Linked DNA regions of Homo sapiens: all the other regions are linked to region 1. Evidence: promoter capture Hi-C in human tissues and cell types (Jung and others, 2019). All regions are on one chromosome and are shown on one strand. The core of a region is centred on a gene start or on the middle of the fragment in contact, and the rest is flanking DNA. Distances in the headings are between cores, read along the strand shown. Region 1 holds the start of LRRC8A (leucine rich repeat containing 8 VRAC subunit A). Region 2 holds the start of TOR1A (torsin family 1 member A). Region 3 holds the start of PTGES2 (prostaglandin E synthase 2). Region 4 overlaps PRRX2 (paired related homeobox 2). Region 5 holds the start of NTMT1 (N-terminal Xaa-Pro-Lys N-methyltransferase 1). Region 6 overlaps CIZ1 (CDKN1A interacting zinc finger protein 1). Region 7 holds the start of TOR1B (torsin family 1 member B).

Evidence for each region. Contacts are between HindIII fragments. The study calls those that stand out against the background at their distance.
Region 2: a contact is called between the fragment with the promoter of TOR1A here and the fragment with the promoter of LRRC8A in region 1, in 1 of the 25 tissues and cell types used here (dorsolateral prefrontal cortex).
Region 3: the fragment with the promoter of PTGES2 here is called in contact with the fragment with the promoter of LRRC8A in region 1 in 1 of the 25 tissues and cell types used here (spleen).
Region 4: a contact is called between a fragment that was not itself captured here and the fragment with the promoter of LRRC8A in region 1, in 1 of the 25 tissues and cell types used here (spleen).
Region 5: a contact is called between a fragment that was not itself captured here and the fragment with the promoter of LRRC8A in region 1, in 1 of the 25 tissues and cell types used here (dorsolateral prefrontal cortex).
Region 6: a contact is called between a fragment that was not itself captured here and the fragment with the promoter of LRRC8A in region 1, in 2 of the 25 tissues and cell types used here (liver and lymphoblastoid cells).
Region 7: a contact is called between the fragment with the promoter of TOR1B here and the fragment with the promoter of LRRC8A in region 1, in 4 of the 25 tissues and cell types used here (IMR-90 fibroblasts, dorsolateral prefrontal cortex, hippocampus and 1 more).

Annotation. Positions count from the first base shown.
Region 1 is chr9:128,880,095-128,884,117 of GRCh38, forward strand. LRRC8A (leucine rich repeat containing 8 VRAC subunit A) reads left to right here and starts at 2,039. Exons shown (of 4, transcript NM_019594.4): 1 at 2,039-2,156. It overlaps KYAT1-SPOUT1 (KYAT1-SPOUT1 readthrough), which reads right to left and starts at 1,856. Exons shown (of 25, transcript NR_182311.1): 1 at 1,803-1,856. KYAT1 (kynurenine aminotransferase 1) reads right to left here and starts at 1,856. Exons shown (of 13, transcript NM_004059.5): 1 at 1,803-1,856. RefSeq lists an enhancer at 1,926-2,075 and a silencer at 2,106-2,385. The HindIII fragment of the contact is 17,929 bases long and covers 1-4,023 here.
Region 2 is chr9:129,822,858-129,826,998 of GRCh38, forward strand. TOR1A (torsin family 1 member A) reads right to left here and starts at 1,279. Exons shown (of 5, transcript NM_000113.3): 1 at 1,051-1,279. The coding sequence starts at 1,228. RefSeq lists a silencer at 664-753 and an enhancer at 1,164-1,473. The HindIII fragment of the contact is 10,199 bases long and covers 1-4,141 here.
Region 3 is chr9:128,124,903-128,128,978 of GRCh38, forward strand. PTGES2 (prostaglandin E synthase 2) reads right to left here and starts at 2,827. Exons shown (of 7, transcript NM_025072.7): 1 at 2,537-2,827; 2 at 342-539. The coding sequence starts at 2,815. It overlaps PTGES2-DT (PTGES2 divergent transcript), which reads left to right and starts at 3,627. Exons shown (of 1, transcript NR_024425.1): 1 at 3,627-4,076. RefSeq lists enhancers at 2,348-2,427, 3,068-3,187 and silencers at 2,568-2,857, 3,498-3,697, 3,728-3,837. The HindIII fragment of the contact is 32,314 bases long and covers 1,167-4,076 here.
Region 4 is chr9:129,687,191-129,690,857 of GRCh38, forward strand. All of the region lies in intron 1 of PRRX2 (paired related homeobox 2), which reads left to right. Among named protein-coding and RNA genes, the nearest start is that of PRRX2, 23 kb to the left of the region's middle. The HindIII fragment of the contact is 4,845 bases long and covers 1-3,667 here.
Region 5 is chr9:129,625,875-129,629,989 of GRCh38, forward strand. It overlaps NTMT1 (N-terminal Xaa-Pro-Lys N-methyltransferase 1), which reads left to right and starts at 289. Exons shown (of 4, transcript NM_014064.4): 1 at 289-421. RefSeq lists an enhancer at 262-800 and a silencer at 414-653. The HindIII fragment of the contact is 3,089 bases long and covers 82-3,170 here.
Region 6 is chr9:128,175,540-128,179,259 of GRCh38, forward strand. CIZ1 (CDKN1A interacting zinc finger protein 1) reads right to left here. Exons shown (of 17, transcript NM_001131016.2): 8 at 3,170-3,720; 9 at 2,830-2,951; 10 at 2,027-2,224; 11 at 812-936. Among named protein-coding and RNA genes, the nearest start is that of CIZ1, 14 kb to the right of the region's middle. RefSeq lists an enhancer at 2,695-3,386. The HindIII fragment of the contact is 7,872 bases long and covers 1-3,720 here.
Region 7 is chr9:129,800,973-129,805,145 of GRCh38, forward strand. It overlaps TOR1B (torsin family 1 member B), which reads left to right and starts at 2,212. Exons shown (of 5, transcript NM_014506.3): 1 at 2,212-2,439; 2 at 3,101-3,366. The coding sequence starts at 2,241. RefSeq lists silencers at 2,292-2,421, 2,482-2,601. The HindIII fragment of the contact is 20,911 bases long and covers 1-4,173 here.

The DNA.
Region 1 (4,023 bases), core at 789-3,288:
ATAATACGTGGGAACATTCACTGTCTACAACTGTGGTTCTGGTTGTTCATTTTACAGGCGGGGACATGGAGGCCCACGGAGTACCTGGCAGGCCCACAGTCCACAGGTTGGAAAGAGGTGCCCAAGCCCTGGACTTTAAGCCTGGGCTCTGACCTTCAACGTTTGCTTTTCACACCACACATCATGTCAATAAATAGTTACTGGATGCCTGTTGTGTGCCAGGCCCCAAGACGGGTGTTGCGTGACTGACAACAGAAAAAGCATCTCAGTGGCGAGGGATAAGCTAGATCATGGGCATTAGTGTAAATCTCCCAGGGTTCAAATTCCAGCTTCTCCACTTCCTGGCTATGATTTTTTTTTTTTTTTAGACGGAGTCTTGCTCTGTTGCCCAGGCTGAAGTGCAGTGGCCCAATCTCAGCTCACTGCAAGCTCTGCCTCCCAGGTTCATGCCATTCTCCTGCCTCAGCCTCCCGAGTAGCTGGGACCACAGGCGCTCGCCACCACACCCGGCTAATTTTTTTGTATTTTTAGTAGAGACGGGGTTTCACCGTGTTAGCCAGGATGGTCTCGATCTACTGACCTCGTGATCCGCCCGCCTCAGCCTCCCAAAGTGCTGGGATTACAGGTGTGAACCACCGCGCCCGGCCCTGGCTATGATATTGCTAAGTTTCCTAACCTCTCTAAGGTTCTTTTCTCTTCTATTAAAAGGGAAAAATAAGACCTCCCAACAGAAGTGAAACTAGGCATTGGCTTAACACGTGATGGATGGGAGCCACGACTATCTTCATCATCTTATTTTTAATTATCTATCTGTGCACATGGTAGTAAATTTCTCGCCCTGGCCCAGGTACCCAAGACCCCAATTCTGTCGGAGACAACCGCAATTAACAACTTCTTGTGCATCTTATCAGACAGCTGGCGCGCACACCCGCAGATACGCCCACCCTCAGGCGTCCTTCTACGCAAAGATGGATAGCACCCATCAACGCTGTTTTTTCTTTTTTTAGACGGAGTCTCGCTCTGTCGCCCAGGCTGGAGTGCAGCGGCGCGATCTCGGCTCACTGCAAGCTCCACCTCCCGAGTTCATGCCATTCTCCTGCCTCAGCCTCCAGAGTAGCTGGGACTACAGGCGCCCACCACCACGCCCGGCTGATTTTTTTGTATTTTTAGTAGAGATGAGGTTTCACCAAGTTAGCCAGGATGGTCTCGATCTCCTGACCTCGTGATCCGCCCGCCTCGGCCTCCCAAAGTGCTGGGATTACAGACGTGAGCCACCGCAACCGGCCCAACGCTGTTTTTACTGTTGTTTCCTTTTTTAACCTAAGGTATCTTAGAAGTCACCCTACATTAGTGCATATTAAACATTGTTCGTCTTAATGGCTGCACAGTATTCCACTGTATGGATTATTTTTTAATTTGGTTGCCGGTACTGTTATCAGCCAGGGAATTTGCGAGGACCCAGCGGGATTTATGGAGCTGCAGAGTTGGAGTCTGGGGACCCAATTCCAACCCCAGATCTGTCCAGAATTCTGTTGTCTCGGGTATCATCTCCACCGGCGCGGTCGTGGGAGGGGGATTTGGGTGCAGACAGGACCAGCCCCAGTGTCCGAGCGAGAATCAGCGAGCAGCACGCGCAGTTGATTCCCGCGGGCGGCTCAATCATTCTGTGCAGCCACTCCGTTATACTTAGTAGCATCAAACTCATTAAGCACTCTAGCACAACCAAGCTCGGAACCGTTAGCCGACCCTCCCAGCCTCGGCACCTGACCTTGGGGAAGTGGCGCTCCGACACAGCTACTCACCCTCACCTGGGCCGCTTCACCCCTCGTTCCCAAGTACACCCCGTAGGTTGCAGCAGTCCCTGTCCCTTTAAGGGGGCCGAGCCCGGCTCCGCTACTTCCGCCCCGAAGCAGCAGGGCGCTAGCGCGGAGGCGAGAGCGGGAGAAAGCGCCGCTAGAATTCTCCTCATAAAGATGGCGACGCCCTGGCCGCCGCGTTCGCGCCCGGCGGTGACGTCACTTCCGGGGCGGAGGAGGCTGAGTGGTGCAGTGAGGGACAAACAAAAGGAGGCGCCGGAGCAGCGCTGCGGCCGGCGGCGGGACGGAGCGGCCGGGGCCTGGGGCTGCCTGCCGGGCGGCCGGGCGCGGCGAGCCCAGGTGAGTGGACGGGGTGGGGAAAGGGGCGCGAGCTGTCACCTCTCGAAACCCACTTACACACGCCCTCGGCCAGCTGCCCGGCCCGGGGCGCCCGGGGCATCTGGGGCTCTGTCTCCGGGCCGGCCCCCTGGGGACCTCCCGCGGTGTTCGGCCTACCTCTGGGCTCCCCAGTGCCCGGAGTCTCCGGGGCACCACCTTCTCGCCGGCTCCGCGGCGCGCGAGCCCCCTCCCAGGCACCCCTGTGCCTCCTTGTGCTTCAGAAACCAGGAGTTTCCGCCTCGGCTCCCCCATGTCCCCTTGTCATCCCCTGGGTCCCCCCAGATCCTCACCCCTCCACACACACTCTCCCGTTCCTAGAGGTTCCACCTCTGGGCTCTCTCCTTGCCATTTCTTTTTCAAAGATTTCCTTAGCTGTCTTCTCCTGAGTTCCTGGTCCCCTTCTCTTCCCTTGCACCCCTCCTTCCTATCGTTCCGATGGGGGCAGTGCCCTGACTTGGGGGCAGGATCCCCGGCTAGGCTCTTGGGGCCTTTCTGGGATGGGATATTTGGGAAGACCGGTCCGGAATCTAAGAACCCAGACCCTGTCCCAGTCCTGTGCATTCAGGTGGGCCCGAGGGCGAGGCGAGATCCAGTGAGGTCCAGGCCTGGTGCAGCCCTAGGTGAGCTGGATACCCAGCAAACTGAGCTCCCAGGCTGAAGGGGCATAGCTGGGGTCATGGAGTTCATGATGATTCTGCTGCTTTCGCTGACTGCTTCTTCCCCTTGATCTGGACCGGGGTGAACCGAGGTCTGCCGGTTCTCAGCTGTTGCGATTGTTGCCTTTTTTGGGAAGGAGGGATGGGTCGGGGGTTGTCTGGTAGCCGCCTCCTGATGGAGACTTGGCTGGAAGGGTGGGCGGTTCCTGGGTGAGCCACACTTCCACTGACTCCTCTTCCCCTGCCCTACCTCAGGAAGCCTTTTGAGAATGAGGTGTGGAGGGAGAGCACCTGGTAAGAGGAAGGGAACTGGGGGAGCCCGAAGTTCCCAAGGACCTCTTCCACCTCTTCTGTTAGTAGTACTCTTAACCCCTGCCAAACTGTATTCTGCCCTTTGGAGCAGACAACCTGGCAGACAGACAGGCTGTAAGAAGCGGGAGGAGATCGGCTGTTGCTGATACTTCCTGTGGAGGGGATGTGGGAGTGGGAGTTTGTTCAGAGAGACTGGGCAGTGCTGATTGCTCAGTCTCACTGGTGTTGCTTCCATGAAGGTCAAGTCTTCCTCTGGCTCATGAAGTGAGGCAAGGACAGATGACCTGTGCTGGAGGAGGCTGTTGTGGACATGCCAGGGATGAGTGACTGGGTGGCTGGTCTCTGCTTCCTTGTTTTCCTGGTCTCAGGGCTTTGGCATGGGGTCTGATGCCCTCTGCGTTCTAGGGACCATAGGGTACAGAGCAGGGGGTGCAGGGCCGGGCGTGGTGGCTCACGCCTGTAATCCCAGCACGTTGGGAGGCTGAAGCGGGCAGATCACGAGGTCAGGAGTTCGAGACCAGCCTGGCCAACATAGTGAAACCTTGTCTCTACTAAAAATACAAAAAATTAGCCAGGCATGGGGCTGCGCACCCGTAATCCCAGCTATTCGGGAGGCTGAGGCAGGAGAATTGCTTGAACCCAGCAGGCAGAGGTTGCAGTGAGCCAAGATCGCGCCATTGCACTCCAGCTTGGGCAAGAAGAGCAAAATTCCATCTCAAAAAAACAAAAAAAAAAACAGAGCGGGGGCACAGGAAATGTTCATGACTTCCCCCCAGAACTTGACTAGATGTGGTGGTTCTCCATCCCTTAGGCACACCCACCAGGAAGCCGTTTCCTTTGCAAACTCTTGAATGACCTTT
Region 2 (4,141 bases), core at 29-2,528, 940 kb after region 1:
AAAGCCAATCAGGAGTGGGGAAGAAACAGCGGCAAAATGTAGCCACATTTACAGCCCATAAGAAAGCCAGCAAAGCCGTCTAGACGCCCTCCAAGCACCTTGCGAAACCTCAAGTACTGCGGTCTGTAAGCTCCTGGCCCAGAGGGGACGGCGGTCCAGGGAGCCCTCCCTTTGCTGGTCCTGCCTATTCTAAAGCCCTGGCCCGACTCCTTCCCGAAAAGCCCCTTGGTGCCACTGCCACTGCCACCAGTTTGCACCCCTAACCCCTGTGCTGCTCCTCCCACCCCAAGGCAGAGCCGGGAAAGGAAACAGTTTGGTCCCTCCTGGTCGGCTGCGGAAGAGTCCTCACCATCCTTCCTGTCTCCCGCTAGGCTAGAAAGGAGGCAGAACCCACTTCGGAGGGAGGTTACCACTGGTCCACCCCCAGCTTAGCGCAAAGTAGGCCAACCTGCAGCCTGGCTCCTCAGGTCTCCGACTTAAGTCTGGCACGTCTGTGGTCATGGCCGAGGAGCCAGGCCTCATCCTGCAGGCCGGCCGCTTGGCTTCCGGGGTCCGGCCCCCGCGGACTCAGCTCTGCCCAGGCCCGGCCCTCCTGGGATGTGACCCCTACCCCGGCCTGGCCCTAGTGCCATCCCCCAGCCCCAGCCCCAGCCCCAGCCCCCGCTCCTGAGCCCCAGCCCCCAAACTCCGCTCCAGCCCCAGTCCTAGCCCGGCCCTACTGCCATCCCCCAGCCTCCATCCACCATCCTCAATCCCCTAGCCCCAGCCAACCGCCCTGGTCTTAACCCAGCCCTAGTGCGATCCCCCAGCCCCACCCCCAGCCCCCGGGCCCCGCTCCATCCCCCAGCCCCAGCCCCAGCCCCAACCCGGCCCTAGTGCCATCGCCCAGCCCCAGCCCCCAGGCCCCGCTCCAGCCCTAGTCCTAGCCCGGCCCTGGTGCCATCCCCCGGCCTCCATCCTCCATTCTCCATGCCCTGGTCCTAGTTCAGCCCTAGTGCCATCGCCCAGCCCCAGCCCCAGCCCCAGCCTCCAGCCCCCGCCCCAGCCTACCCTCCCGGCTAAGGCTCCGCTTCTGCCCGCAGCACTCGGCGAAGAGGCAGTAGAGACGCGGGTAGATGTAGCCGGTGAGGACGCCGGCCAGGGCCAGTCCCAGGCTGATGGGCTCCACCGCCTGCACCACGGACGGCGCCAGCAGCAGCAGGCCCAGCACGGCCCGGCCCAGCTTCATGCCCGGACCCGCGCCACCCTGCTTGTTCTCGCGCCGACCGCGAACCGGTGCAGCCGCCAGACCCACGCTTCCGGTTCCTCCTCTCGCGGAGGCCATCTTTCTTCAGGGCAGCCCTCCTCCCGACGCCGGCGGCCGCCATCTTTGTTCGGTACAAAGCCCTGTTTTGCTTCCGGAAACTCGGTTCTGCTCCGCCCCTGTTGGCCACGTGTTTTTGTTTATGGACGTTATTTTTGCCAGGCATGGTGGCTCCTGCCTGTAATCCCAGCCCTTTGGGAGGCTGAGGCGGGCGGATCACCTGAGGTCAGGAGTTCGAGACCAGCCTGACCAACATGGTGAAACCACGTCTCTACTAAAAATATAAAATTAGCCGGGTGTGGTGGTAGGCACCTGTAGCCCTAGCTACTGGGGAGGCTGACACATGAGAATCGCTTGAACCCAGGAGGCGGAGATTGCAGTGAGCCGAGATCTCACCACTGCACTCCAGCCTGGGAGACAGAGCAAGACTGTGTCCCCTCCCCGCAAATAATAATAATAATAATAATAATAATAACGGACGTTATTTTTTAGAACAGATTTACAGAAAAATTGAGAAGATAGTAGAGAGTTCCCATGTGCCACCCATCCCTGCAATTTCCCCTATTACTAAAATCTTACATTATTAGTGTGCTACATTTGTTAAAATTAACGATGCACTGTTGTCATATTAACTAAAGTGTAGTTTATTCAGATTTCCTTCCTTTTACTTAATGCCTTTTTCTGCTGCAGGTTTCCATTCAGGATACCACATTATATTTCGTTGTCATGTCTTAGACTACTGTTAATGACAGTGTCTCAGCCTTTTATTTTTATTTTAGCTGGAGTGCAGTGGCATGATCTCAGCTCACTGCAACCTCTGCCTCCCAGGTTCAAGCGATTCTCCTGTCTCAGCCTCCTGAGCAGCTGGGATTACAGGCACACACCACCATGCCCGGCTAATTTTTGTATTTTTGGTAGAGACGGGGTTTCACCATGTTGGCCAGGATGGTCTTGATCTGACCTCATGATCTGCCCGTCTCAGCCTCCCAAAGTGCTGGGATTACAGGCGTGAGCCACCGCGCCTGGCCTCAGCTTTTTATTTTTGATGACCTTGATAGTTTTGAGGAGTACTGGCCAAATCTTTGGTGGGCTGGCCCTCTATTGGGATTTGATGTTTTTCTCAGGATTAGACAAGCGTTATGGCGTTTTGGAAGGAAGATCACAGAGGTAAAGTGCTATGCTCATCACATCCTACCAAGGAAGGGTTCTTACTGTTCAACGTTACTTACCACTGTTGGTGCTGACTTGATCACTTGACTGAAGTAGTGTTTGTCAGGTCCCCCCACCCCTCTTTTCTCTACTGTACTCTTTGGAAGGACGTCCCCATGCACAGCCCACACGTAAGGAGTCGGGGATTTTGCTCCACCTCCTTGGGGGCAGAGTATCTACAGAAATTATTTGGAATTCTGCATGGGAGATTTGTTTCTTCTCCCCCATGTATTCAATCATTTATATCAGTGTGGACCATTGTTATTTTATCCTTTGTTATACTACAGTACTAATTTTTTTTTCAAATTGTTCTCATTTTGGCCACTGGGAATTTGAGTGGTTCCTTGTGCTCCTTTGACATACACCCAGTGTATATACCAGCTTATTTGGGTTTGAGTGCCTCTTTCCTTTCTGACACTACAGGATACTCCGGGCTCATCTTGTATTTCCTGCCCCAGTCCTAGAATCCTATTTTCTACGAGGAACCCTGATTCCTTTCATTGTAAAATGGCATTAGAAACTGGCTGGGCATGGTGGCTCATGCCTGTAATCCAGCATTTTGGGAGGCTGAGGCAGGTGCATCACCTGAGGTCAGGAGTTTGGGACCAGCCTGACCAATATGGTGAAACCCCATCTCTACTGAAAATACAAAAAAATTAGCTAGGCATGGTTGCGTGTGCCTGTAGTCTCAGCTACATGGGAGGCTGAAACAGGAGAATTCCTTGAACTTGGGAGGTGGAGGTTGCAGTGAGCCGAGATCGCACCACTGCACTCCAGCCTGGGTGACAGAGCGAGACTTCGTATCAAAAAAAAAAAAAAAAAAAAAAAAGAGAAACCAAGGTCTGGGTGCTAGGTGTGCTTCTTGCTATTGAGATGTCATTTCTTTCAGTCTCAGCTGACAGAAAAAAATGTGTGTATATACTGTTAAACACACACATATCTATAAATATTTTTATAGGTAAACATCTGTACCTATATTAAGCTAAACATGAGCTCGTGCTGACATCTCCAACTCTAATCCATTACACAGATCATTGGAGCCTCCTCCCCTTGTTTATCTGTGAATTCCCACCCCAACAGTGAGAGAACCAGCTCCCTCCATCTGGCAGCCACTTTTAAGCTGGATAAAAGATTACTCATTTTCTAGCAAAGGGAACTCTGGCAAGTGAGAACTGTTGACCATCCACTTATTTGCCTGTTCATCCCATAAACACGTGTTGCGTTGCTGTGTGCCAGATGTGCTAGGCCTTTAGTATTCATCTTGGGTTACCCCTGCACATCGCTGGGACCTGTAAATGTTTGTTGAAATATCCTGAAAATATTTTTTAAGTTTCGACTTTTTCGTATTGGATTTAAAATACTTTTGTGCACCTGTTACAAGCCAAACACTATAGGGATCATTCATAGTTTTGAGGACTGCCTATCTGTCAGATTATGGGCTATGCCCTGGGGATTCAAATTTAAAAATTAGGCACACATGGTTCCTGCCTTCACTGACCATATTCAAGTGGAGGAAAAAAAAAAATCTCCATTTTACAGATGAGAAAACTGAGGCTAAGAGTGAAAAGGATCTGTCCAAGGACACAAGTAGTAAGCTGCGAGGTGGGCTCAGATCTGACTCCTGGGCCA
Region 3 (4,076 bases), core at 1,577-4,076, 750 kb before region 1:
CATGAAGCAAGCAAGCGCAGAGAGGCTAAGTGACTTGCCCCAAGTCACACAGCTAGTGAGTGGGTGAATCACACCTCAAACCCAGATCGCTGATTTCAGAATCTATGTTGTTAAGCTGTGGTGTTCTGCCTCCCTGAGACCCAGCAGGTGTTTGGTTTTGGTACGGAAGGAGAGAGCCTACATTTATTGAGCATCTACCGTATGCAGCTACTTCCCCCATAGTCCTTACAGGCACAAGGATCACAAGTTCCTTCCCAGGCTGCAGAGCCAGGCCAGGCTAGGGGGCGCTCCAGGACAACCCAGGAAAGGAGGAAGGATGCAGGGGGTTCCCTGGGGCTCACCGAGCTTTCTCCTTCCTGGGCCACCAGGATGGGCACCTTTCTGTAGGAGGAGAACTTGATCTCAGCCCTGCGCACAGGGTTCACCTCCACCACCTGGTAGGGCAGGGCATGGAAGTCGAGGAAGGCTCGGACCTTGCTGCAGAAGGGACACGTCTTGTACTGGTACAGGGTCAGCTGCAGGCGGCTGGACAGGGAGAGCTGCGGGCAGCAGACGGAAAAGGCTTCTAGACCTGGCACCCCCAGGCCCAGGCCCTGCCCCCAAGGGTGTTTTCCAGAGGAGTCTTCTGAAATGACGCTAGAACATCGGGAAGAGGAACTAGAGATGGAAGGGGGCGGTAGGGGAAAGGGAGGCACTGGACAGCAGCCCAGGTTTAAGCCCCTGGCCAGCACGGTCCCCAAGCAGGAGTCCCACCCTTTGCTGCGAGGTTGTGTAGGAGGAATCTTCTAGTCTCTGTCCCATACTGGACAGACCCCTCTTTTCTCACTCCAGTCCCAAGGGGACACCAGACAGCCCCAGGGTATACACCCCACTCCCACAGACATGGAACAACTGTTTCAACTTGACTTGTTCACTCTCACTCCTCTAACCCCAGGGACCTCTGGGGGCAGAGCTGGGCTACCACCCAGGCTCATGTTCACCAGTGGGGTCTACCTCCAATCTCTTTCTTGTTTTTTTCTCTGGAGACAGGGTCTCACTCTGCCATCCAAGCTGGAGTGCAGTAGCTTGATCACAGCTCACTGCAGCCTTGAACTCCGGGGTTCATGTGATCCTCCAGCCAAAGTCTATCTCAAATATCCGAGGGGGAGGGTGGTATCTGAGCCAAGGCCTGCGTGTGGCAAGCTCCGCAGGAAAGCCCCCAGGGGAGCCTGCTGCACGTTCATGCCGGGAAGCCACAACTGTAGACCATCCCCCTGTGTTCAGAGGGGAAGCTGGACCGTGGAGGCAGGAAGGGAGACACAGAGTACTCCATGCCCTTTTTACCCACCTCTGTTCCCTCTGGTCCAGCAAATAAGCATCTGTGGGCGGGTGGTGGGAAGTCAAGTAATGAAGAGTTGCAAGGTGTGGGGTAGGTATAAAGTGTCTCAAGGCAGCTGGGCCACCACTTAGGGGGTCACCACTTGGGGGGGGCACCTTTCTACCTCTTCCTGTTTCAGCCTGGAGTCTAAGTCATCAGTTCCATAAAGGTACCACCACTACTACTAAATAAATACACAGCCTTAGGATTTGGGGGCAGTGGGGAGAGAGGATGATGAACGTTTGGAAAGTGAAAAAGGCTTTCCCTTTCCTGTGATCTCCCATCTCTTAATCAAAAAAGTCTTAAAACACGGTAGAGGCTGGGCTCCGTGGCTCACACCTGTAATCCCAGCACTTTGGGAGGCCGAGGCGGGTGGCTCATTTGAGGTCAGGAGTTCGAGACCAGCTTGGCCAACATGGTGAGACCCCCGTCTCTAGTAAAAATACAAAAATTAGCCGGGCTGGGTGGCAGGCGCCTGTAATCCCAGCTACTGGGGAGGCTGAGGCAGGAGAATTGCTTGAACCCAGGAGGCGGAGGTTGCAGTGAACCGAGATCGCGCCACTGCACTCCAGCCTGGGCAACAGAGCAAAAAAAAACTCCGTCTCAAAAAAAAAAAGTCTCCTTAAAACATGGTAAAGGCTGGGCGCAGTGGCTCACGCCTGTGATCCCAGCACTTTCAGAGGCCAAGGTGGGCGGATCACTTGAGGCCAGGAGTTCGAGACCAGCCTGGGCGACATGGTGAAACCCTATCTCTACAAAAAATACAAAAATTAGCAGGGCGCAGTGGGGTGAGCCTATAGTCCCAGCTACTCGGGAGGCTGAGGCAGGAGGATCCCTTCAACCTGGGAGGCAGAGGCTGCAGTGAGCCGCGATCGCACTCCAGCCTGGGCGATAATGCGAGACCCTGTCTCGAAAACATAAATAAACAAACCAAAAAAAAAAAAAAAAAAAAAACCACGGTAGAAGAACGATTTTATGAGAACTCGAACAATTCCAGGTAGTAGGCATCAGGAGTGCCCCTATTTTACACAAAAGAATACAGAGGGTTCGGAGACTTCAGACCAAGTCACTCGCCCAAGGTCACAAGCAGGCAGAGGCAACTCCTGACCCTGCGGGTTCCCAGGAGTCCCGAGTTCGGCGCTGATCAGCATCCCCATCCCCGGCCGGGCCAGGCCTTACCTGCGCGGCTGAGCGCTCTGCGTGGAGGTCCTGGGCGCGCAGGTGCCACCGCGCCGTGTGGTACAGCCCCAGGGCTCCCCCCAGGGCCAGCGCCGCAGCTCCCAGCAGCCGCGGGCTCCCCTTACGAGCTGCAGCCACGGGGCTCGGGCCGCCCGCCGCCCCCGCGAAGCCAGCCCGGCTCTGCGTGGGTAGCAGCGGCTGGGGGCGGCCTCCCAGCCTCCAGGCCAAGGCGCACCCACCAGGCCACAGCGCCCGCACCACCCGCGCAGCCGGGTCCATGTTCGCTCCGCCGGCGCCGCGGGCGGGCGCGCGAAACGAAGACGCCGAGGCACGCGCGGCGTTTAAAGGGCCAGGACTCTGGCGCCCCGCGGGTTGGCCGGGGTGAGGGCGACGCTAAGGGAACCCTCAGCGCTCTCGGGACTGGGCGTGTGCCCGGCGCCCAAGTTCGAAACGCCCGCCAGAGCCGCAGAGGCCCGCTCGGGAACGTTTGCAGACCGTTCCATGCTTCCGCCTCCAAAGGCTCTTGGGTAGTGACCCGGCCGACTGCAGGGGGGCGAACGTCTCCTCGCCCCACCTTGACCGCCTAAAGGGCGGCGTGGCCGTCTGTAACACGTACTTGCCCACCTCTCTTACGGGCGCCCATTCAAAACAACTCCAGCCCTTCCTAGAGTCAGTACAGGCGCCGCGACTTCCGGCCACTGAAAGCCCCGGAAACGACCCGACCCGGCACCAGGTGTTGCGGTTCTCTCTGCCCTCCCGCCTCATTGTCCGCTTCCTACTGTGACCCGAACCATAAAATTTTCCCGAACCCGAAGGGGCCTTGGAAACCACGTGTCTCTGATTTCGCCCACGCGAAGCGGCCGGCCCGCCGACCCCGAGATTTCCAGGGAGAGGATGGCAAAGTGGGGTGCCAGGCTGCTCGGTCCTTCTGCTGGGCTCCCCCGCCCTAGCTGAAGCCCGGAGCCTCCACCGCATAGGCGTCTCCGCGGACAGCCCCGGGATGGCCCCGCCCGGCGCCCGAGAGGGGGCGGGACTCGCAGAGTGGGCGGGGAGAGGGGCGGGGCGAGGGGGGAGCTCTGAGTCCCGGCTCTGCTGCTCCGCCGCGTCCCACTCTTCTCGCTCCGCTTTCGCCCCGCATCTTCCACCTTCCTTCCAGTCCTTGCGGCGACCGAGCCCGCAGTGTCAGTCCCCAGCGGGGACCTGAGTATGCCGGTGAAGACGAGAGCGGAAGGCGAGGACGACGGCTTCGGGGAAGCGGGTGACCCGAGGAGACTGCTGGAGCGACCTTGGCGTTTCCGGGGGTGCCTTCCCGGGAAGGGGAATCGGGATGTTGGCTTCGAAGGGACCGAAGGGCCCACCTCGACCCGCCCCGAGTGGGTTTGGAGTTGTAGGTGCTGTCTCGGATGCAGGGCGAGCACCCGCGAGCGGGTAACCAGTCCCGTGAGAGCTGCAGGTCCCCAGCCCCGTTTTACAGATAGGGAAACTGAGGCAGCTGCTGGGACACTCGCCCATATGGGTTTTGCTCCACCCACTTCCTTCA
Region 4 (3,667 bases), core at 1,015-3,514, 810 kb after region 1:
CAGCTTAGGCCACAGAATGAGATCACCAACTCTATAAAACATTAAAAAAGAAAAAAAGTCGGCTGCATTCAACATGCACAGATGCTTCATGGAAGGAAAGGGGCAAAAGTGGCCTCGAGGCCTGGCAGGGGTGTTGTTCAGCGGGCCCCTCGGGGTTGGTGAGGGGTGTGGAGGGCCCCAGGGACCCCTGTGAGTCCTGCCACCTGACCACCTTCCAGGCATCATCTCAGAATCCTTACAATGATCCATGAGTGGCTGGGAAACTGAGGCACAGAGAGGAGGAGCCGCGTGCCAGAGGAAGGGCTGGCAGCCACTCCACCGTCACTAACTCAACTTGCTTGCGCTGTACCAGCCGGCTTCCCTCTGCACACTCAAGGCTGTGTCAACAGTGGCGCCTGGCACAAGGGTGGTGCTCAGTAAATGCTGCCTGGATGAATGAATGAGTGACTCACAAACTATACCCTTTTGATCGCTGCGCCAACTCCGTGGAATTCTAGCAGCCTGGTTGGTGTGGGAACTCATCACACCCGAGATTTGGGGAGCAGAAAGGTAGCATGGCCCAGGAGACAAGGGCAGGCAGACAGACTGGCTCAGACCCTGGCCGGGCAGGCCTAGGCAGGCAGCATCAGCTCTCTGAGCCTCAGTTTCTCCTTTTCTAAAGCAACCTGATGACAGTAGCCCCCTCGCACAGTGATTGAGGGTGGATGAGAAAGGGCTTTCTGGAGGTAGCGGGGACAGTCTGTCACTCAGGCTGGAGTGCAGTGGTGCAATCACTGCTCACCGCAGCCTTGACCTCCTGGGCTCAAGCGGTCCTCCTGCCTAAGCCTCCTGAGTAGCTAGGATTACAAGTGTGCACCACCACGCCTGGCTAACTTTTATATTTTTTGTAGAGATGGGGGTCTCACTCTGTCACCCAGGCTGGAGTGCAGTGGTGCTATCTTGGCTCACTGCAACCTCCGCCTCTGGGCTCAAGCCATCCTCCCACCTCAGCCTGCCAGGTAACTGGGACTACAGGCATGCCACTACCATGCCTGGCTAATTTTTGTCTTTTTTGTAGAGATGGGGGTCTCACTCTGTTGCCCAAGCTGGTCTTGAACTCTTGGACTCAAGCGATCCTCCCACCTCAGCCTCCTAAAAGTGCTGGGATTATAGGTGTGAGTCACCGTGCCCGGTCAAGAAATGGCTTTGAGGACTGGGAAGAGCCCCATGATATAATGGGGGTCATTTGAAGAGCTACCCTGGACCTGTGTCTACAGTGTGGTCTCTGATCATGAACTCCCTCCCACAGTCTCTGCCCCAGGTGCCTTCCTTTCCCTACCCCGCAAACACGCAGTAGCACACTGACCTCACGTTTCTCCCAAGAAGCATCATCCACGTCAGGACAAGGTCTCTTGACTCTGAAGGAGAACAGCCAGGAGGGCTCACTGGGTCCACATTTCTGTCACTCTGTCTCCTGCCATTCAATGGCATGGGCCCCAAAGAGACACCTGAAACCTGGGAGCCTAGCAGAGCTAGGACAGGAGACCAAGCCTGGAACCCAGTGTGAGGAGGCTGAAGCAAACGTGCACAGGGGTTCTGGGCATCAGGAGAGGGCTTTTCCAGTTGGGTCTTGTAGGATGAGTAGGAGCCCATTGTTTACTCTCTTCACCAGTTCACACAGCACCACCCTCTGGTTGGGTGGCTCTAGGCCTAGCATCCTCCCCTCTGCGGCCTCAGGCTTCTCATTCATAGAATGGAAAGGAAAGGAAAGTGTCTGTCCTGTTGCTGGAATCATACAGAATAGAATCTTTTCAGGTTGGGTCTCACAGAAAAGAGGTGAAGTGTGCACGAGGCCAGAAATGTTGTGTGTCGTTGGCTGCGGGTAGGCTCATGGCTTAGGGGTGCTGGTTTGGCTTCATGGCACAGAGAGACACTCCTGTGCTCCTGAACACACTCCTGTCTTCTCTCCATTTCTCTCCTCCTTCAAGCTTCCCTGCCTTCTCCACCCCTAAGCTCTTCTCTGAGCTCCCAGAGCACAGGGGTCTTCAGTAAGAAGCCTGCCTGCTTCGGCTGGAATCCTGCCTCTGCCACTTGTGCAGGTCACCATGCTCCCTGAGCCAGGGCTTCCTCGTTTGGAAAAGGGGAGTAAGTGATAATGCTTGTCTCTCAGGACTGCCAGATTTCGGTGTGACCAGGCATTTGGCTTAGTGCTCCGCTTGAAGGAATTGCTCCACGCGAGTTAGTGGCATCCATCATCATTTCCCATTCTCCCATCTCCCACTGTGCGTGTTTGCTTGAGTTATCACCAATACCAACCCTGTAAGTAGATGTCGCTTTTGCAGATGAAGATACCAAGGCTTATTTGGGACAAGTGGTCCCTGGCCATAGGGCTGGGCCTCAACTCTAGGCTGGTCTGATGCGCAAAGACCTTGCACTTGGTGTCGCCAGTGAGTGGTCCTCAACCCTGGCTGCACGGTAGCATGAGCTGGCGAGCTTTCAATGAATGCTGATGGCCAGGCCTCACTCCGAACCTGTGGAGTCCGACTCTCCGGGGTGGGGGCGGGGGCTTGGCATCTTATTTTGCTTATTTATTTATTTATTGAGACGGAGTCTTACTCTTTCGCCCAGGCTGGAGTGCAGTGGCACAATCTTGGCTCACTGCAACCTCTGTCTCCCAGGTTCAAGCGATTCTCCTGCTTCAGCCTCCCAAGTAGCTCGTATTACAGGCGCGCGCCATCACGCCTGGCTATTTTTTGTATTTTTAGTAGAGACGGGGTTTCACCGTGTTGGCCAGGATGGTCTCAATCTCTTGACCTTGTGATCCGCCCGCCTCAGCCTCCCAAAGTGCTGGGATCACAGGCGTGAGCCACCGCGCCTGGCCAATAGCATCTTATTTTTAAAGGCTCCACCCTCTACTGCTCCCCAGTAATGCCCCGTGCAGCTAGGGCCGAGGCCCTGTCCCACCCTGCTGCCTTCATCCCTCCCACCTTACCCAGCCTGTCCTCCTCTCCGCTGCGATCCTCTGTTTTCAGGGCTGCGTCATTCTCTCCCTGAGAGTTGGCCTAAGAGCTGGGGCCCGAGTTTTCTCCAACATGACTTTTCCAGCCCTCTGGGCACACTTTTGAGGGTAACAACTCACTTTAGAAAGGCCCCTGCTGCCCGGCGCAGGTGATGGAGTTGGCACACAGGTTGTATCACGCCAATGGGTAGGATCTGAACCCTGATCAAGGTACCCAGGATCTGGAGACCTGAGAGGGCCCTCCCAAAGGCAGCAGCTCTGGGGGCTGCTAGTCCTTGGACAGACATGACTAGCACCATAAGTACGGTGCCAGCTCTTTTTTTTTTTTTTTTTTTTAAGACGGAGTCTCGCTCTGTCACCCAGGCTGGAGTGCAGTGGTGCGATCTCGGCTCACTGCAGTCTCCGCCTCCTGGGTTCAAGCGATTCTCCTGCCTCAGCCTCCTGAGTAGCTGGGATTACAGATGCCTGCCACCACTTCTGGCTAATTTTTTGTATTTTTAGTAGAGATGGGGTTTCACTATGTTGACCAGGCTGGTCTTGAACTCCTGACCTCATGATCTGCCCGCCTTGGCCTCCCAAAGTGCTGGGATTACAGGCATGAGCCACCGCGCCCAGCCAGTGCCAGCTCTTAACTCTCAAATGGGCTCTACACCATGAGGCCATCTCCAA
Region 5 (4,115 bases), core at 376-2,875, 750 kb after region 1:
GGTAGCTCACGCCTGTAGTCCCAGGTACTCTGGAGGCTGACGCAGGAGAATCGCTGGAACCTGGGAGGCAGAGGTTGCGGTGAGCCGAGATCGCGCCACTGCACTCCAGCCTGCTTGACAGAGCAAGATTCTATCTCAAAAAAAAAAAAAAAAAAATTTAAATTATTTTTCAAAAGAAGTTAAGTTAAATCCGGAGCCCGCGCGGGGGAGGGGCGAGCTGAGCGAGGGGGTGGAGCCAGCCATGGGCCCGCCCCTAAACGCCCGGAAGTGACGTTGGCGGACAAAGGCAGCGCGCGCCGCGAGCTGTCGCGTCTGGTCGTGGTCTGGCGGAGCTGCGGTTGGCTTGTGGCGTCTCCGCCGCCGCCGCCCTCCCTTCCTCTTCCCCATCTTCTTCTCTCGGTCCCGGGAGCCCCCGCCCGGAGTGAGTAGCGCGAGGCGGTGCGAAGGGTAGGCAGCCGCTGGGAGAGGGGAGGCTGCGACCCCTAACTGTTTCGGCGCCCTGAGGTCCCGGGTCCCCGGCTCGTCACGTGACCCGGCGCGTGCGCGCGGGCCGGCACAGGCCTCACGTGCGCGTCCCCAAGAGGTCTACGGGCCGGACCTGGGCAGGGACTACGGAGCAGTCCATGGGTCGGGGTACAGGAGGAAAGTCAAGGCACTCAAAGCCCAGGCAGGGCACTCCCCCACCCCGGTCCCCAGACCGCAGCAAATCCCTTTCTCTGAGCCTGTTTCCCTTCCGAGAAACAGGGATATGGAGAGCGCCCACTTGGAGGATGGATGGGAGGAATCGGTAAAATCGGTAAAATGCCCAGTTCAGAGCCTGGCACAGTTAAGTGCCCGCTGCACAGAAGTTGCTGTCGTATTTAACCTTGGGTGCCACCCGAGCGCCAGCCCGACACAGGTGCAGCTCAAAAAAGACAGCCCGAGAGCCCTTGCGGCCAAGGTCAGCCTGTCTGCAGGGAGGCTGCCATATCGAAAAGCCCAGACTTTGCTGCGCACCAACTGTGTGATCTCTCCCTCTGGACTTTGGTTTCTCCTCTGTACTATAAGTGATTGCCACAACTGGTGTCAGAGGCCCTGACAGCGGGGAGGGACAGTGTAACCGGTGGTTGTGGTGTGTAGAATGATTGCCCAGTGAGATGGGATGAGCCTCTGGGAGGAACCAGGGCTGGTATAAGGAGCCTGGATTCCCTCCTTAATTCTGTTCTCGGCTTCCTGTTTGTATGTTTAAAGACACGTCACTTCCTTTAGTGTGCTGGTTTTTCTCTATGTAAACTGAGGACTGTGCGGGGGTTGGAAGGATGCATGGAGCGTTTTGGTGGAGGCCGGAAGCCCTAGGATCACAAGGATGGCATCTAAAAAATCTCGGTGGGGGTTCTGTGCTTATAGGCAGAGGAAGCTCACTCCCCACTCTGGCTGATTTGCAGAGCTGTTTGAGTCTGCTGGCTTGGCCGCCCAGCATACCAGTAACAGTCCCCTAGGTGTGTCCAATACAGCTTCTGTGGCATTCTAAGGCAGTTTTCCCATTTGATCCTCATAGTGGGCAGAGTTGACAAGAATCTCATTTGACAGAGATTTCTAAGCTCAAGAGAGAATATGTGCCCGGCACTGTGCAAAGCACTTTAAGCTTTTCATATGCACTTTTAATCACAGCCTTTCTGTAAAGTCGGTATTACTGTTCCATTTTATAGGTGAACTGAGGAATGGTGAGGTTTAATGTCTTGTCTGTGCTTACACAGCAGGTGTGCAGAGCCAAGATTCAGATCTGGTTCATCTGGCTCCATCAGAGCCTTTGTTAGTTTTTAAATGTATCCCCTGTTTTGTCTTCTTCCCTCCCTTTCTCACTTCCTTCTTTTTCTTAGAGCACTCTGCCGTTTGCATGTGGCCTGCTGCTGTCCACAAAGATCCAGGGAGGATGGACTCTGTCCACTAGGCTGCTAGAGGGTGGAGGTAACTTTTAGGCAGGCTTTTCCGTAGAGACTTACGTGAGGAGGATGAGATGACTGCAAAAGTCTGCCGGTGACAGTTTCAGCACTGTTTTCTTCCATGGGTCGTGGGAGAAGAGATGCAGTACCTTGGGTCTGAACACCTTGGCGGGGAGGAGGAGGCAGCAGCCAGGTGACTGTGAAGGATGTAGGATCACATTTACTGGCTGAGCAGCCATTTACCAGGCATGAGGGGTTTGTCTTCCTCTCTGAGCTAGCCTAGAGTGCACACAAAGCCCGTGTGCTCCTGGCCCCCTCCCAGGCCCTTCAGCCACATACGGCATCTGTGCTCTGGAGCAGAGTGTAGCAGGACCACCTGCTGTTGGCTGACTGACCTTGCTGTTCCCTCAGACTCTTAGGGACCTCCTCCTGCCCCACTCCAATCTGGACACCACGAGGCAAAATGTAGCCAGGACCCCAGGAATCCCGTTTATTAATGAATCAGCTGTTAGGGCAGATGTCAAAGTCAGGCTTGCTATTTCCCGGCCAGGATGTGCCTCCCCTGGCTTGTTCCCAGAATTTGCGTGTAAGTGGAATTCTTGTAAATTAGATTATTCAGGGGACCCTGACATTTAAAGGAATCATGTTACAAGGCTTTTGGTAAAGCACAGAATTATATTGTCGGTAGCAGCCTTCAGGCCTTCAGTATTTACCAGTTCTGAATGGTTGGACTTTTGTCTGTAGGATTTTCTTAGAGTGGAAAATGGCTATAGCTGCACAAAGCCCATTCTTGCATTATTTGGCAACCAGTTAGTCAATGCCCACCTGGTATCAGGCACTGGGCTAATGGTGTACAAGGTAATGTCTCTACCCCCAGGAAGCTGCATGCTGGGAGAGGAGACGGATGGAGTCCAGCCTGGTATGTGTTTGCCCCCAGATTTATTCTGTTCATTTGATCAGAGGTGAACTTTCTGTTGAATATTTGTGTTTCATGGGATGCAAGAGAAGCATGGTGATAAATCTCAAATGTTGCCACTGCTCTCAGGAGCTCCCCGGCCAGGCGAGAGAGAGAACTGAATACAAAACCTTCAGTTTGCCAAGTTGGGCGGTGAGAGGGAGACAGGCTTGCTCTCGCCATGGTCCAGTCTGAATGGGAGTTGTGCCAGCATGGTGTGGAAGAGTAGTAGTTCGTTTTTTAACCTTTGTCTTTAATTTTCCCAGCCACCAAGTGTTTTTTGTTTTTTGAGACAGGGTCTCGCTCTGTTGTCCAGGCTGGACTCAAACTCCTGGGCTCAAGCAGTCTTCCCACCTCAGCCTCCCAAAGGGCTCAGGTTATAGGTTATAGGTTATAGAGTAGTTTTGAATGCCGTCCTCTCTTGAGTGACTGATGGAGGGCTGTGACATGGTTGCTCCGGTACCTGCTGGCAGAGGGGCAGGCAGCCCACCTAACCTGGTCCTTACGCCATCAGACCATAGCAGCCACCAAACCCAGCTACATGGTGACATTCAGATTGGTGGCCCTTTTTCCTGTCAGCTACCCGGGCACATCTAGCAGTCTTGAGGATTGGCAGGTCTGGTGGGAAGAAGAATTCATTCTTCTTCTTCTTTTTTTGACACAATGTCTCACTCTGTTGCCCAGGCTGGAATGCAGAGGCAGGATCATGGCTCACTGCAGCCTTGACCTCCCAGGCTCAAGTGATCCTCCCACCTCAGTCTCCCTAGTAGCTACTAGAATGTGTGTATTTTTGACAGAGATGGGGTTTCTGAGCCGTGGGCTTCTTTCTCCTTCCGGCAGTGTTGTTCCCAGTGCTGGGACACCAGTGTGGGAGCTTTGTGGTCAGCTTGCGGGGAGGGTGTTATGTGCAATATTTAGAACTAAGGTCCTCCCCAGCCTGTTACCCCAAAGGGCTCCCTGATTGGTGAAGTGACTGCTGCCTTTCTTCATTGTGGCTGAAACCCTTGTGCGTGAACAGTAAAGTGAGGGGTCAGTCTGCGAGCGGATTCAAGAATCTGAAGAGGGAAGCCAGGTGCAGTGGCGTGCGCCTGTAATCTCAGCTACTTGGGAGGCTGAGCAGGGAGGATGGCTTGAGCCCAGGAGTTTGGGGCCAGCCTGGGCCACATAGTAAGACCCCATCTCAAAAAAACAAGAATCTGAAGAGAAGTTTAAGCAGGCTTCTCTCTAGGCACAGCCAA
Region 6 (3,720 bases), core at 29-2,528, 710 kb before region 1:
TCAAATTGTGACCTCTGTAAAATTAGGACAGAGCCCGTGACCACTGACTCAAGGGACCGTCCAGCCTATGAAAGTGTTTGATTTGCTCTCCGTAGGGTTTGTTTTGTTTCAATTCTGAACTAGCTGTTAACATTTTGAAATTGGGAGATTTCACATACAAACCTGGATTTCTGGATTCTTCTTAAAACTAAGAGATCCAGAGATGAGAAGCAGCTGTCTCCTGAGACAGAGCCTGTGTCCCCGCTGTGGCCCTAGCTAACATGGTCCTGCTGCTGAGATGACACATCCCAGCCCTTGCACACCTCTATGACTGCCCACAGAGTCCTGAAAGCACCTCTGGCTGCCTGCCAGGCCTTCCCACCCCAGTATAGTTCCAGACCCCAGGAGGGCTGAAGTTTCTGATTAAACAGGCTCCCATGACAATGAAAGGGGGAGACACAGGGAAACCCTAACCTCCAACCACAAAAGAACCTGATCCTCAGCCTTGTCACCCCACAGCGGGGTTAGCACACATGCCACAGGGGGCAAGAGTCTGTGCCACAACCTGTCCTCTCCCACAGGGATGGTCATACTGTTCCTGCCTAGAGGGAACCTTAAGAGAATGTCATGAATTCCTGTACTATATCCGTCACCAAGCCATGTTACAGGCAGGGAAAACTGAGGTTCAAGGTCACACAGTTAACAGTGTGAGGAGGCCTGGCTGGGGGTGCAGTGCTTAACCCAAAGGTAAACCCTGCAGATGGTAGATTCAGGCCCTGGCCGATGAGACTGCCTACCCCCCAACACAGAGCTTCCACGATCCCCCACTCACTCATCCTCTGTCTCCAGGACGTCCCGGGGCACGGGCAGCAGGGACAGGAGGCAGGCTTGGCTCATGTGCTGGATCTCCCCTAGCCGCTGCTGGTGCTGAGGCTCCGACATGTGGTCCTGGAACTCCTGCAGCAGGAGGGAAAGAGGGATGGGCCTGGGGCGTGAGCCCAGAACAGTGGGCAAGGCTGGGGCCTGGGGAGGCAGACCCCAGCCTCATCACTGTGCGCCCATTTCTCTCACCACACATTTCTCTCTTGTGTAGGCTAGAGCAGGCATGATAAACTAAGACACAGGGTACATGCCAGCCCGAGCTTCTGCCCCTCCCAGAGAATGTGTGAGTGCCTCAAAGACAAGGAGCGGCCTGATTAGCATCCAGGTCTCCAAGGCTGTGCCAGGTGAGGCACAGAGTAACACAGCTCACAGCACAAGAGTAGTAATACAAGTACAATGCGATCATGATTACTGCTACACTCACTTTGGGCCAGGCCTGCGCTCAGGACTCCAATGTCACATTGCTGAATCCCCAGAACCACCCAGTGAGGTGGATTCTAAACGTTTCTTTTTTTTGTTTCGTTTTGAGAGTCTCGCTCTGTTACCCAGGCTGGAGCACAGTGGCATGATCTTGGCTCACTGCAACCTCTGCCTCCTGGGTTCAAGCAATTCTTCTGCCTCAGCCTCCTGAGTAGCTGGGATTACAGAAGCATGCCAACACATATTTTTAGTAGAGACGGGGTTTCACCATGTTGTTCAGGCTGGTCTCAAACTCCTGACCTTGTGATCCACCCACCTCAGCCTCCCAAAGTGCTGGGATTACAGGCGTGAGCCACTGTGCCCGACCCTAAACTTTCCTTTGTCTGATGCAAGAGGAAACAGGCACAGGGTGGAATTCGCTTTCCAAGGTCTCCCAGCTACTCAGAGCCGATATGAACCAGGTCTGACTGACTCTAAAAACCTGCTTGAGCCCAAGAGGTAGAGGCTGCAGTGAGCTGAGATCATGCCACTGCACTCCAACCTGGGAGGCAGAGTAAGACCCTGTCTCAAAACAAAAAACAAAACCACCAAAACCTGCCTTCTTGGCAGGTCAGGAAATGTTTCCCAAGCAAATGCATGGCTGCTTGGGGCAGGGCCCATTGCAGCCTGAGGCATTCTTGGGAGGGCAGGCTGGGCATTCCACGCAGGCCCCACCCCTCCCCACCCTTATCTCCTGTATCAGTACCTGCTGGCTGGAGCAGCTGGCCTTGCAGATGTAGCAGAAGAACTGGAGGGCCTGCTTAGAGGGAGTGCTGGTAGCCGCAGGGGTGGAGGAGACGGAGTCACTGGGGCGGGGGACAGGTGTCAGGGGTACAGTGCTAAAGGCCCGGCTGTCACTGCTCTGCAGAATGGTGACCTTCAGGGAGCCCCCGGCGCCCCATACCTGCATGGGGAGTAGGAACTGAACTTCCATCAACTGTGTACTTATAGTGGGCCAGCCCAGCATTCAACATCTGCCAACGTTGTCTCATCAGATCTTCCTGATGATAGGGAAACTGAGGCTCTGAGCTGTTAGCTGACTACCCCAGCTTGCACAGCTAGAAAGCACTGCAGTCAGGATGCGAACCCAGGTCGGCCTAAAGTACCACTCATCCCACCCCTTGTATGACAGATGGGGAAACAGACTCAGGAGGGAAAGGGTTTGCCCACAGTTACGCAGAGCTGGGACCCAAATCCCACAGAGAGGCTTCCACTCTGTGCTCTCTCCACGAGAGCAACATTACCCATGCGAGGAGACTGGGGCTCTGGCTTGGGGATGGGCAGGCTGGAAGGGACGGATGTGAAGACAGCACAACAGCAAGAGGGTCCCATGCACACCACTATCAAGCCCAGCCTGGTCTGGCCACCCATCCTAGGCAGAGGGCTGTCATCCCATTTCACGGTGGGGGAAACACAAGGAGGCCCTGAGGTGGCCTGGGGCAGAAAGAGGCCATCCCACCCTGCTGGGCTCTGTGGCCCTCACACTGCCACATCAGGGCCTCTACCCACCCCTGGCATCTCTCTCGCTCTGTTTTCACATTCTCCCACATCTAGGCCACAGGCCGACTCATTCTGAATCTCTTCCATGCTGACTTGGGTGCCCACAGGCTCTGGCAAGGTCTTTTCCATGCCTGAAATGACAGATGTGCTGTATTTCCCAGAGTCCCCAGGCCCAAGAGCTGCCTTCTCCGTCCGCAGCCAGAACCTTGAGGCCCCCAGCATGGATGGCCCTGGACCTGGGTTCCAGGCCTAGCCCTCAGTCCCAGGCAGCACCCAGTCAGGGGAGGAATGAAGGGTCTGGGCAGAGCTGTCCCATCACCAGACCAGCTGGGAGCCAGTGCTCACTTACCTCCACCAGCTTCTACTGCATCAGGTGGCATCTCCAGCCCGCAGACATGAACCACAACTGGTGTTTGCTCTGGAGCCAGCAACGACACCTGCGGCTGGGTGTGAGGCTGCTCATGGGTCTGCTCTGGTGGCTGTACTGACACCTGCGCTGGAGGATGCTCCTGTGGCTGGACGCTTGGCTGTGCCTGTGTGTGGACCTGTGGATATGTCTGTGTCTGGACCTGCTTCTGCAGCTGCAGCTGCACCTGCCTTGGGGGCTGTGAATGTGCCTGGGGCTGCACCTGTGGCTGCACCTGCTTCAGCGGCTCTGCCTCCTGCTGCAGCTGCACCTGCCTTGGGCCCTGTGAATGTGCCTGTGGCTGTACCTGTGGCTGCACCTGCTTCTGTGGCTCTGCCTCCTGCTGCAGCTGTGGCTGCACCTGCTTCTGTTGCAGCACTAAGTGCTCTGGAGAGGTCTGTGTTTGCGCCTGCTTCTGCAGCTTTGGCTGCACCTGGGTGTCTGTGGATGGTATCCGCGGCTGAGTCTGTGACTGCACCTGGGCCTGGACCTGC
Region 7 (4,173 bases), core at 962-3,461, 920 kb after region 1:
CCTCAGGTGACCTGCCTGCCTCGGCCTCCCAAAGTCCTGGGATTACAGGCATGAGCCAGTGCACCTGGCCCTTCCATTCATTCTTTAGATCGCAACTGAGATAGGGAGGAGAAGATCCCTCCCCACCCACAGGCCTCTGTGCATCCTGCATTACAGCCTTGGCCCACCCTGGACATAAGCTGCCTGCTTGCTCATCTGTCTCCCTGACTAGTTACCTGGACCACGGCAACAGCCTCTTCACTGGCTCTCTGCCTTCCATTTCTTGTGAACCCAGCAGCCAGAATGATCTCTGATCTGACCATGTTGCTTCCTGTGTAAAACCCTCTGTGGCTCCCTATTACCCCCCAGAACAGAGGCCAAACTCCTTACAACATTCGCAAGGACTTCACCTTCCAGTCTCTGCCTGATTCTTCATCCCTATCTCTCACCACCTTCCGCCATGTGGAATCCTTTCAGTTCTCCAAACTGACTGTTGTTTTCTGCCTAAAACACTCTACTCATTTTTTGCCTGGCCTAACTCCCTCAGTGCCCAGCTTAGACAAAAGCCTTCCCTGTACCACTGTCCGATACTTCTCTGCCCACTCAGCATTGAGTCTCACCCCTTTGTCGGCCTCCCCCATAGACCGTCAGCTCTGAGAGGGCAGGGGCCAACTCCGTCCCCTCCTCTGCTGTCGTTCCTGGCATCCAGCAAGGGGCCTGCCACCTAGCGTGCTGAATGAAAGAATGGACCTCGGGATTTCAGTGTGGAAGCCTGGGCAGGTCTGTCTTGGGGCCGCTGCATCCCCAGTGCTCAGTCTAGGGCGCAGCACGGAGAGTTCGCAACTGTTTCAGGAAGAAGGCAGGCGGGTGGGCCGACCCAAGAAACGCACATTATACCTCCGGCGAAGTGAAGGGAGGGATAACAAAGCAAAGCTTGAGGGCTCCGAGAAGCTCTGAAGAAAACAAATCCAGCCATAAGCCCACTCCTGTAACCCCAGGCTTTGGAAGACGGAGGCAGGTAGATCGCTTGAGGTCAGGAGTTCGAGACCAGCTTGGGCCACATGGCGAAACCCCGTCTCTACTAAAAACACAAAAGTTGGCTGGGCGTGTTGGCGGGCACCTATAATCCCAGCTACTCCAGCAGCTGAGATGGGAGAATCGCTTGAACCTGGGAGGAAGAGTTTGCAGCGAGCCGAGATCCTGCCACTGCGCTCCAGCCGGGGCGACAGAGCCAGACCCTGTCCCCAATATACATATCAGATAAGAAAAAAATATAAGAAAGTTTAAAAAAATTTTTTTTGGCTTTTTTTTGTTTTTTTTGAGACGGAGTCTCGCTCTGTCGTCCAGGCTGGAGTGCAGTGGCACGATCTCGGCTCACTGCAAGCTCCGCCTCCCAGGTTCACGCCATTCTCCTGCCTCAGCCTCCCGAGTAGCTGGGACTACAGGCGCCCGCCACCATGCCCGGCTGATTTTTTCTATTTTTCGTAGTGATGGGATTTCACTGTGTTAGCCAGGATGGTCTTGATCTCCTGACCTCGTGATCCGCCTGCCTCGGCCTCCCAAAGTGCTGGGATTACAGGCGTGAGCCGCCGCGCCCGGCCAGCCTTTTTTTTTTTTTTTGAGACAGTTTCGCTCTTGTCGCCCAGGCTGGAGTGCAGTGGCACGATCTCGGCTAACTGCAACCTCCGCCTCCTGGGTTCAAGAGATTCTCCTGCCTCAACCTCCCGAGTAGCTGGGATTACAGGCGCCCGCCACCACACCCATCTAATTTTTTGTATTTTTAGTAGAGACGGGGTTTCGCCACGTTGAGCAGGCTGGTCTCGAACTCCTGACATCAGGTGATCCGCCCGCTTCAGCTTCCCAAAGTGCTGGGATTACAGGCGTGAGCCACGGCGCCCGGCCAAAAAAAAAAAATTTTTTTTTTTTTTTTTAGATATTTTTTCACTCTTGTTGCCCAGGCTGGAGTGCAATGGCGTGATCTCGGCTCGGCCTCCCAAAGTCCTGGGATTACAGGCGTGAGCCACCGCGCCCGGCCCGAAAAAATTTTTTTAAAAGAAAAGGGAAACAAAACAGTCTCCTACACCTTCGGACCACTCCCAAGAACGATGGCACCGCCCTCCTCTCCGCCCCTCACCAACATGGCCGCCCCCAAGGGAGTGGGCGGGTCTGCGGGGCGGAAGTGACGCACGAGAGGAAGTCCGTCCTGCCGCTTGGCCGCGGGGCGCCTGGCTCAGTGGCTTCTGCGGGCTTCGAGGAGCGGGATGTTGCGGGCTGGGTGGCTCCGGGGCGCGGCGGCGCTGGCGCTGCTGCTGGCGGCCCGAGTGGTGGCGGCGTTCGAGCCCATCACCGTGGGCCTAGCCATCGGGGCCGCGTCGGCCATCACCGGCTACCTGTCCTACAATGACATCTACTGCCGCTTCGCCGAGTGCTGCCGCGAGGAGCGGCCGCTCAACGCTTCGGGTACGGCGCGCGCGCGAGCTGTGGGTCGGCGCTGCGGGGGGCGCGGGGGCGCGGGGGCGCGGAGGGACGGCCTCGTGGGCGCCTGGCACGGACCGGGCCCGTGGCATCTAGACGGCGGTGGTCCCAGCTGGGGTGGGCGGGGAGCGGATGGGGCGGCCCCGGAACCGTTCGCGGGAACGCAGAAGCGGTGCCTTCGCAAACAGTCTCCAGATCGTGGGGCTGCCCCAGCGCCTTTCTAAAGCTCCCGTTCCTTGGGATCACAGGTGGAAGAAACGGAAAGTAGGCGGGCGGCCCTTCTGCGCCCTGCCAACCCTATTAAGTAGTTTTCAGACGTGCTGCGTCGCCCAGAAAGCCCACATTTGGCCCCTGGTTTTCCTGCAGGTCAGCAAGGGTGGCTGGGATTAGCAAGCGCTCAGTCAAGCGATGGTTCATCTCTGAATGAATGAACATTTAGCTTCCTTATCAGACCCCGAAGCGTTAAGGACCTCCACATAATCTTGAAAGTGGCATCGTTTGACTGCCTCGGCCCTAGGGTGTGGCAGACACCCTGCTGTGTCCCTGGATAATCTGTGCTTCTTGCTTTGGCCAGCTAAGAAAGTGCTGCGTTGCTGATGCATTTTTAAGGTCTGTTTCTCTCTTTGTTCTGGGGCTGTTCTTGCAGCTCTCAAGCTGGATTTGGAGGAGAAGCTGTTTGGACAGCATCTAGCCACGGAAGTGATTTTCAAGGCGCTGACTGGCTTCAGGAACAACAAAAATCCCAAGAAACCACTGACCCTTTCCTTACACGGCTGGGCTGGCACAGGCAAGAATTTTGTCAGTCAAATTGTGGCTGAAAATCTTCACCCAAAAGGTCTGAAGAGTAACTTTGTCCACCTGTTTGTATCGACTCTGCACTTCCCTCATGAGCAGAAGATAAAACTGTACCAGGCAAGAGAACCCGCTATTATCTCGTCTGCAGGCCAGTCGGACTGGTCCGGGTGACCTGCTCACTAACTCTGGCCTCTGCTTCTCTTTCCTTTGTGTTGCTGTAGCCCCCGGCTCCACTGAGTTAAGGCACACTTAGTCCAGGTAGTTACAAAGCTCTCCTACAACATTTCTCTTACTTGGTTCCAAAACAGTCCAGTGGGGTAGGGGATGTTATTTCCATTAAAAGATGGGGAGCCAAGGGCCTGGCGCCGTGGCTCACGCCTGTAATCCCAGCATTTTGGGGAAGCCGAGGCGGGCGGATCATTTGAGGCCAGGAGTTTGAGACCAGCCTGGCCAACATGGTGAAACCCCATCTCTACCTAAAAGTACCAAAATTACCTGAGCACGGTGGCACGCACCTGTAATCCCAGCTACTTGGGAGGCTGAGGCAGGAGAATCGCTTGAACCTGGGTGGCAGAGGTTGCAGTGAGCTGAGATCGCGCCACCGTACTCGGTCTCAAAAAAAAAAAAAAAAAAAAGGCCTGGCACAGTGGCTCACGCCTGTAATCCCAGCACTTTCGGAGGCCGAGGGGGGCGGATCACGAGGTCAGGAGATGGAGACCATCCTGGCTAACACGGTGAGACCCCGTCTCTACTAAAAATACAAAAAATTAGCCGGGGATGGTGGCGGGCACCTGTTGTCCCAGCTACTCGGGAGGCTGAGGCAGGAGAATGGCCTGAACCCGGGAGGCGGAGCTTGCACTGAGCCGAGATCGCGCCACTGCACTCCAGCCTGGGCGACACAGTGAGACTCTGTCTCAGAAAAAA